Linked DNA regions of Homo sapiens: region 2 is linked to region 1. The links are contacts of gene promoters, found by promoter capture Hi-C in blood cells and fetal thymus (Javierre and others, 2016). All regions are on one chromosome and are shown on one strand. The core of a region is centred on a gene start or on the middle of the fragment in contact, and the rest is flanking DNA. Distances in the headings are between cores, read along the strand shown. Region 1 holds the start of EMC7 (ER membrane protein complex subunit 7). Region 2 overlaps KATNBL1 (katanin regulatory subunit B1 like 1).

The links. The method cuts DNA at HindIII sites, captures the fragments that hold promoters and counts their contacts. A CHiCAGO score of 5 or more calls a contact.
Region 2: a contact is called between a fragment that was not itself captured here and the fragment with the promoter of EMC7 in region 1, in 9 of 17 cell types (naive B cells, total B cells, activated CD4 T cells and 6 more). The highest score is 7.7, in naive B cells.

Annotation. Positions count from the first base shown.
Region 1 is chr15:34,099,312-34,103,856 of GRCh38, forward strand. It overlaps EMC7 (ER membrane protein complex subunit 7), which reads right to left and starts at 2,551. Exons shown (of 5, transcript NM_020154.3): 1 at 2,293-2,551. The coding sequence starts at 2,528. PGBD4 (piggyBac transposable element derived 4) reads left to right here and starts at 2,772. Exons shown (of 1, transcript NM_152595.5): 1 at 2,772-4,545. The coding sequence starts at 3,221. RefSeq lists enhancers at 1,695-2,552, 2,162-2,861, 2,892-2,981. The HindIII fragment of the contact is 6,792 bases long and covers 1,179-4,545 here.
Region 2 is chr15:34,193,238-34,197,607 of GRCh38, forward strand. The region is part of intron 1 of KATNBL1 (katanin regulatory subunit B1 like 1); the gene reads right to left. Among named protein-coding and RNA genes, the nearest start is that of KATNBL1, 15 kb to the right of the region's middle. The HindIII fragment of the contact is 1,563 bases long and covers 2,224-3,786 here.

The sequences.
Region 1 (4,545 bases), core at 1,301-3,800:
TACTATGTAAACAAACAAACAAACAAAAACACATGAAAACCACCTGTCCAAAAACAGAGGACTGGTTAAATAAATTATGGCTTATATACATTGTGATGATAGCAAGAAATGGCATGAGGAGTCTTCAGGCCCAATTCCCTTTATCTCCATTAACTAAGTCCTAAGCCACCTCCAATAAGCACAAATGTAAGTCAAAACTGTGTGCTAGTTATGCAAAACAGCTACAATACAAATTACCTACCCCTTTTCCAATAAGATTATCACCATAAACTCCTCATATTAATTCTCCATCAATGTTTCTTTTTTTCCTGAGAGACGGGGTTTTGCTCTGTAGCCCAGGCTGGAACGCAATGGCATGATCACAGCTCACTACAGCCTCAACCGCCTCGGCTCAAGTGATCCTCCCACCTCAGCCTCCTGAGTAGCTTGGACTACAGGTGCACACCACCACTCCTGGCTAATTATTTATTTTTTGTAGAAATGGGGTCCCACTATGTTGCCCCAGCTGGTCTGAAACTCCTGGGCTCAAGCGATCCTTCCACCTCAGCCTCCCAAAGTAAGATTACAGGTATGAGCCACCGCGCCTGGAAATTCTCCATCAACCTTTCTACATACAAATAAAGAACATGAAATGGTATCAAAAGCTGTTCAAAAATATTAAGTGAAAAAGGCAGGATACAAACTACTACATGTTGTATTTTACTAGTAAAAACCTAAGTCATATGATTCCAAAAGAAGCTGGAAAAATGGTAGGCACCGTGGCTCACGCCTATAATCCCAAAAATGTGACAGGCTGAGGCAGAAATATCACTTGAGGCCAGGAGTTTGAGACCACACTGGGCAACATAGCAAGACCCTGTCTCTACAAAAAATTAAAAAATTAGCTGGACATGATGGTGTCCGCCTGTAGTCCTATCTACTGAGGAGGCTGAGACAGGAGGATCACTTGAGTACAGAAGTTCGAAGCTGCCATGAACTATGATCTCGCCACTGCACTCCAGGCTGAGTAACAGAAAAAGACCTTGTCTCAAAAAAATAAAAAGAAAGATACAATGAAACATTAAGGGTTGTTTTCCTACTTTGTTTCTAATATACTATTTTTAAACAGAAATTAAATGCTTTTTAAAAGAACTGTATACAGAAGAGTGGCCAAATGGTCAATTAAGGCTTATTCCTAAAGCTTAATGAGAACTTTATCATTAAAACATCATTAATTAGGGTAAACTCTAACGAATGCCCTAATGCCAGATTCTTAATGACAGACAGCAGTAAAATACTGGTTGTAAATTTGTCACTATTTATTAATCTGAGGTTGAATAACCACTCAAGGGCACTTAGATGATCTGAACAAATATGTAAATCAGATTTGGATTTAAATGTCTACATTTAAGTTGTCTGATTTTCAGATACCATTTGCTGGTGTACGAACCCACCAAAGGAAATACTTCCTAATTATTTGCTTTCAGTTTACAGTTTCACCTCCAAGTAAGGGTGGAAAGATTTAAAACAACATACGCGTGCCTAGACATTTCAAAAGCAGGCTGCTGCAAAACTAGTGCTAACAAATTCATCCTGTCTTTTAATATAGACAGAAAACCCACTTCCACTAATAGCATGAAAGGACAGAAGCAAGAAAGCAATGTAGAGGAACCCTAGTCTCACATAAATGACAAGTGTGATATAGCAAATCTCTCGATGAATTCAACTGTAAAAAAGAACAACGATCCCACCCCCAAGCAAAAAAAAAAAGAAAAAAAAAGTGCTTTGATTAGGGATTTCAGAGCCTATTAATTTTAGAAGCAGTAACATTAGCCTCCCAGTCTATGTCGTCACTAGAAGCCCTTTGGGTTTTGAGAATTCCCACTTGTGTCGCATCTTTCTACATAATAACAAGCTACCAAAAGACTGAAGTGAATGCAAAAAACGACTAGGTTCTAGGGAAACCAGATGAGATATAAAAGAATCCAACAAGAGACTAATAAGGGTCCACCTGTCCCCAGGGCCCAGGAATGATCGTCCCCACATGGGGCCAAAATAAGGTTGGAAATAACTGACTCCATGCTCTGACCATGGCAGGGGGTGAGCGCCTGCCATGCTCATTCCAGAGGTACAGGACCAGGAAAGGGAAAGCATCCGACTGCCTCCCAAGGTCTCCCGGCATAGACCGTTAGCGGCACCCTCCCCTTCAGTCTGAGACAGCGACGTTGTCCCGTCCTGACACTTAACTCTCCTGGTGGGGTCCCTGTCCGGCCTCCATCCCAGCCTTTTTCCCGCTGCCCTCAGGATGCTCACTTAAGGAAACCGACGTGCTCTTCTCCGTCTACCAGCACTCGGGCCGCCGAGATCCAGTCCTGAGGCTTCACCCCTGGAACAACTGCACGCCCCTCAATCTTGAAGCGATCTCCTATGCCGACCCCACTCCCTCCCGATCCCTCAGCAGCAGCCCCGGGCACCTCCGAGCTCTGGACATCCCCCGATAGCAGCAGCAGCAGCAGGACGGGAAAGAAGCCCCACAGAGCGGCCGCCATGACAGCAGCTCTGCACTCAGACCGGCAGCCCCGGAAGCCCTCCCAGTCTCCCGGCCGCCACCGCCGCCGCTGGCGGCTTGATGTTGTCATCACTGCGCGCCCGTTTCTGTCATAAGCTGTGGGATCCAACCAGAGGGAAGAGATCATGGCCGATCGACTAGCGAGGCGGAAGTAAGGCGGAAGTACTGCCCTTAACTCCCGGCACTCTGGATTGGAAGACGGCGCACAGAGCCTGTGTCAAGTGCCTATGAAGGGGACTGCCCATGAAGTGAAAGTCAAGTGTGTGTTGCTGCGGCAGCCACGGAGGCCAAGGACCTCACGGGAGTAAAAGATGACGAGACTGGCTTCGGGAGAAACACCATCCAGAAGAGACCTTTCAAAAAACTTCTAGAGACTCCCCAAGACGTATGAGATGAAAGGCTTCTTCTGTCTGTGTGCGTTTAACTCATTTCTCCTTAGCCCCGAGATTACGCGCTGCTGTGCCTGCGACTGCAGCGTTTACGCCGAGATAACTCGTGGATTACAGTGCCAACCTTACTCCCAAAGTTTGCCACGAAATATCTCGCTTCTGTTATTTTCGCATGGTTCTGGTATATTGACTTTTGAAACAAAAGACATCATTCTGTTTATAGCATTCTGTTTTTAGTAGTGGGATTTCCATCTACAAAATATAGTAATTCTCGATCGCTGAAATGTCAAATCCTAGAAAACGTAGCATTCCTATGCGTGATAGTAATACCGGTCTCGAACAGTTGTTGGCTGAAGATTCATTTGATGAATCTGATTTTTCGGAAATAGATGATTCTGATAATTTTTCGGATAGTGCTTTAGAAGCCGATAAGATCAGGCCTCTGTCCCATTTAGAATCTGATGGAAAGAGCTCTACATCAAGTGACTCAGGGCGCTCCATGAAATGGTCAGCTCGTGCTATGATTCCACGTCAAAGGTATGACTTTACCGGCACACCTGGCAGAAAAGTCGATGTCAGTGATATCACTGACCCATTGCAGTATTTTGAACTGTTCTTTACTGAGGAATTAGTTTCAAAAATTACTAGAGAAACAAATGCCCAAGCTGCCTTGTTGGCTTCAAAGCCACCGGGTCCGAAAGGATTTTCGCGAATGGATAAATGGAAAGACACTGACAATGACGAGCTCAAAGTCTTTTTTGCAGTAATGTTACTGCAAGGTATTGTGCAGAAACCTGAGCTGGAGATGTTTTGGTCAACAAGGCCTCTTTTGGATACACCTTATCTCAGGCAAATTATGACTGGTGAAAGATTTTTACTTTTGTTTCGGTGCCTGCATTTTGTCAACAATTCTTCTATATCTGCTGGTCAATCAAAGGCCCAGATTTCATTGCAGAAGATCAAACCTGTGTTCGACTTTCTTGTAAATAAATTTTCCACTGTATATACTCCAAACAGAAACATTGCAGTTGATGAATCACTGATGCTGTTCAAGGGGCCATTAGCTATGAAGCAGTACCTCCCGACAAAACGAGTACGATTTGGTCTGAAGCTATATGTACTTTGTGAAAGTCAGTCTGGTTATGTGTGGAATGCGCTTGTTCACACAGGGCCTGGCATGAATTTGAAAGATTCAGCGGATGGCCTGAAATCATCACGCATTGTTCTTACCTTGGTCAATGACCTTCTTGGCCAAGGGTATTGTGTCTTCCTCGATAACTTTAATATATCTCCCATGCTTTTCAGAGAATTACATCAAAATAGGACTGATGCAGTTGGGACAGCTCGTTTGAACAGAAAACAGATTCCAAATGATCTGAAAAAAAGGATTGCAAAGGGGACGACTGTAGCCAGATTCTGTGGTGAACTTATGGCACTGAAATGGTGTGACGGCAAGGAGGTGACAATGTTGTCAACATTCCACAATGATACTGTGATTGAAGTAAACAATAGAAATGGAAAGAAAACTAAAAGGCCACGTGTCATTGTGGATTATAACGAGAATATGGGAGCAGTGGACTCGGCTGATCAAATGCTTACTTCTTATCC
Region 2 (4,370 bases), core at 1,755-4,254, 94 kb after region 1:
AAAAAAAAACTTAAGGCCAGATGCAGTGGATCATGCCTGTAATCCCAGCACTTTGGGAGGCTGAGGCAGGCATATCACTTGAGGCCAGGAGTTTGAAACCAGCCTGGCCAATATGGCAAAATCCCATCTCTACTAAAAATACAAAAATTAGGCAGGCGTGGTGGCATACGTCTGTAATCTCAGCTATTCAGGAGGCTGAGACACAAGAATCGCCTGAACCTGGGATGCGGAGGTTGCAGTGAACAGAGATGGCGCCACTGCACTCCAGCCTGGGAAACAGAGCAAGACTCTTGTCTCAAAAAATAAATTAATTAATTAAAATATCACCAGTAGGCTGGGCATGATAACTCATTCCTGTAATCCTAGCAATTTGGGAGACAAATGCAGTTGGGTCGCTTGAGCCCAGGAGTTTGAGACCTGCCTGGGCAACGTGGTGAAACCCTGTCTCTACAAAACATACAAAAATTAGCCGGGCATAGTGGTGCACACCAGTAGTCCCAGCTACTCAGGACGCTGAGGCAGGAGGGTCGCTTGAGCCCAGGAGGTTGAGGCTGCAGTGAGCCAAAATTGCACCACTGTACTCCAGCGTGGGTGACAGAGAAAGGCCCTGTCTCAAAAAAAAAAAAAAAAAAAAAAAAAAAAATCACCAGCAAAATCACCAGTAATTCAACCACTTTTCCTCCCATGCAGTTTAGTTTTTCTTTGTCGTTTTTTATTTTTTTGAGATGGAGTCTTGCTCTGTTGCCCAGACTGGAATGCAGTGGCACGATCTCGGCTCACCACAACGTCCGCCTCCTGGCTTCAAGCGATTCTTCTGCCTTGGCCTCCCGAGCAGCTGGGACTACAGGTGCACGCCACCATGCCTGGCTTATTTTTGTATTTTTAGTAGAGACGGGGTTTCTCCATATTGGCCAGGCTGGTCTCGAACTCCTGTCCTCATGATCCACCTGCCTTGGGCTCACAAAGTGGTGGGATTATAGGCGTGAGCCACTGCACCCAGCCTGCAGTTTAGTTTTATATGCTGCATTTTGTCATTAATATTATATTTTCCTACATGTTAAAAGATTTTTTTTTGAAAATATGATTTAGGGCCAGGTGCAGTGGGTCATACCTGTAATTCTAGCACTTTGAAAGGCCAAGGCGGGAGTAGCACTTGAGCCCATGAGTTTGAGGCCAGCCTGGGCAACATACTGAGACCCTGTCTCTATAAAAAATAAGAAAAAAAAACTTTAAAAATTACATGAGCATGGTGGCACGCGCCTGTAGTTCCAGCTACTTGGGAGGCTGAGGTGGGAGGACAGCTTGAGCCTGGGAGGTGGAGGCTGCAGTTAAGCTGAGATTGTGCCACTGCACTCCAGCCTAGAAAACAGAGCAGGACCGTGTGGAGGTGGGGTTGGGAAGGGAAAGCCTCTGCATAACCAAAGAATCAACAAAGTGAACAGACAGTATCTACAAACTATATATCTGACAGTGGACCGATATCCAGAATTTATAAGGATCTCAGACAATCAGACAACTGAACAAAAACCCCCAAATAATCCCATTAAAAAACAGGGTAAGAACACAAATAGACATTCTTCAAAAGAAGACAAATGGCCAAGAAGCATGTGAACAAATGTTCAATATCACTAATCACAGAAATGCAAATTACAACTACAATGAAATATCATCTTACACCAATCAGAATGGCTATTATTAAAAAGACAAAAAGTAACAGATAACAAGGGTGTGGAGAAAACAAACTCATATACTATTTGTGGGAATGTAAATTAGTACAACCTCTATGGAAAACAGCACAGAGATTTCTCAAAGAACTAAAAACGGAACCACTATATGATCCAGCAATCCCACTACTGGGTATCTACCCAAAGGAAAATAAATCATTATATCCAAAAGACACCTGCACTCATATGTTTATTGCAGCACCAATTTATAATAGGAAAGATATGGAATCAACCCGTGTCTTATCAACAGAGGACTGGATAAAGAAAATGTGGTACATATACAATATGGGATACTATTCAGCCTTAAAAAAGAATGAAATAATGTCTTTTGTAGCAACATAGATGGAACTGGAGGCCATTATCTCAAGTAAAACAACTCAGACACAAAGACAAATACTGCATGTCCTCACTTATAGTAATGTGTACATATGAAAGCAGTGTGGAATAATAGAGAATGGAGACTCAGAGAGGTAGGGGTGGGAGAAAGGTGGATGATGAAAGCTTGCTTGATGGGTAAAATGCGTGTTGCTCTAATGATCCATGTACTGAACCTCCTGACTTCACCACATGCAATATATCAATGTAGCAAAATTGCACTTGTATCCTATAATCCCAGATACTCAGGACGCTGAGGCAGGAGAACTGCTTGAACCTGGGAGGTGGAGGTTGCAGTGAGCCGAGATCCCATGACTGCACTCCAGCCTGGGCAACAGAGAGAGACGCCATCTCAAAAAAAAAAAAAACCCAAAAAACAAACAAACAAAAAACCCACAAATAATTTTTTTAATTGTAACTGTCAAATGACTATGTATTGGGAATTCTGCAAACCACACTGCATTCCTCAAAAGCAATTCTATTTTGTGGAATATACAAAATAGTTATGGCGACATGGAAATTGATGATAAATGCAAATAAATTTAGGGTCCTAAAAGTAACTTTGTGATTTATGAACATTTGATTTATAAATCTTTACCTTACTTGCTATATGAGAAATCAATGTGTGTCTGATTTTTTAAACTACGTGTGCATGCTTATCTAAAATGTGTCTCAAAATAATAAAAACTGGAAAGGGGTAAGCACATTCTGGCTTCAGAGAAAAAATAAAATAAAAAGATTCATTAAAAAAAGATGTTACACATGTATCTTAAACATTTCAATTTAAAATCTAAAAATCAGCCAGGCGTGGTGGCTCACACCTGTAATCCCAGCACTTTGGGAGGCCAAGTGGGATGGATCACCTGAGGTCAGGAATTCAAGACCAGCCTGGCCAACATGGTGAAACCCCATCTCTACTAAAAATACAAAAATTAGCCACGCATGGTGGCGCCTGCCTGTAATCCCAGCTGCTTGGGAGGCTGAGGCAGGAGAATCGCGTGAACCCGGGAGGTGGAGGCTGCAGTGAGTCGAGACTGCATGACTGCACTCCAGCCTGGGCAACAGAGCGAGACTTTGTCTCAAAAATAAAATAAAATAATTTTTAAATGACTGGGCGCGGTGCCTCATGCCTGTCAATCCCAGCACTTTAGGAGGCCAAGGTGGGTGGATCACTTGAGGTCAGGAGTTCAAGACCAACCTAGCCAACATGGCGAAACCCAGTCTCTATTAAAAATACGAAAACCTGCCAGGCGTGGCGGCAGGCACCTGTAATCCCAGCTACTCGGGAGGCTGATGCAGGAGAATCACTTGAACCCAGGAAGCAGAGGCTGCAGTGAGCTGAGATTGCACCACTGCACTCCACCCTGGGTAACAAAACCAGACTCCGTCTCAAAAAGAAAGAAAGAAAGAAAGAAATCTAAACATAATGTATGATGCATCATCTATAATTTATAGTTTGGGCTTAAAGTGGCTCAAGAACTTGATACATTATCAGTACAAAATCCTAAACTGTTACAGTTTTACTTCATTTATGTTTAGCTTTCTAATCTACACCTTATTTGATATACAGTTTTTCAGGCATTTGCCTTTGTCCAGACTACCCAAAGCATTACAATTAATTTCATGGAAACAATATATTTTAAATTCCTATTTCCAATTGCTGTCTTCACTAAATTGGGAACTAAGAAGCTTGGCAAATGTGGCAGAGATAGACTGCTGCTCTCTACAAAGGTTTTTCCAACTTAGACTCCTGCTACTAGAGGTGGAGAACAACCACTATTTGCATCCATGATAACACAAGATTCTGTCTTGTCAACGTTTTTACCTTTGAAAATCTGACAAACGATGAACAATGTCATGTTTTAGTTTGCTTTTGAAAAATTTAATGTGAAGTTGTATTTTTCTTACGTTTAAACTGAAAAGACTAGGCAGTATGGTGTGACAGAGAAATATAAGTCCTAGAGTCAGACTACCTGGGTTTAAGTCCTGTTTTAACCATTTATTAGTTATGTACCATCTTAGGCAAGTTACCTAATCTCCTATTTTCAGAATAATGCTGTGAGGATTAAATAATCCACTTACCACAATGTCTGTAAATCACTCCGTAAATGTTAGCTATTATCAAGTTATACACAAACATCACCTATGAGGCAAGTTGCCTTTGGTGTAAGAAACATGATTCGTGGTATTAGCAAACTTTAATATCAGTTCCTAAATTTGTTGTATGTTTCTATATGTGCATATGTAGCACAGAGAAAAGAATGAAAGGAT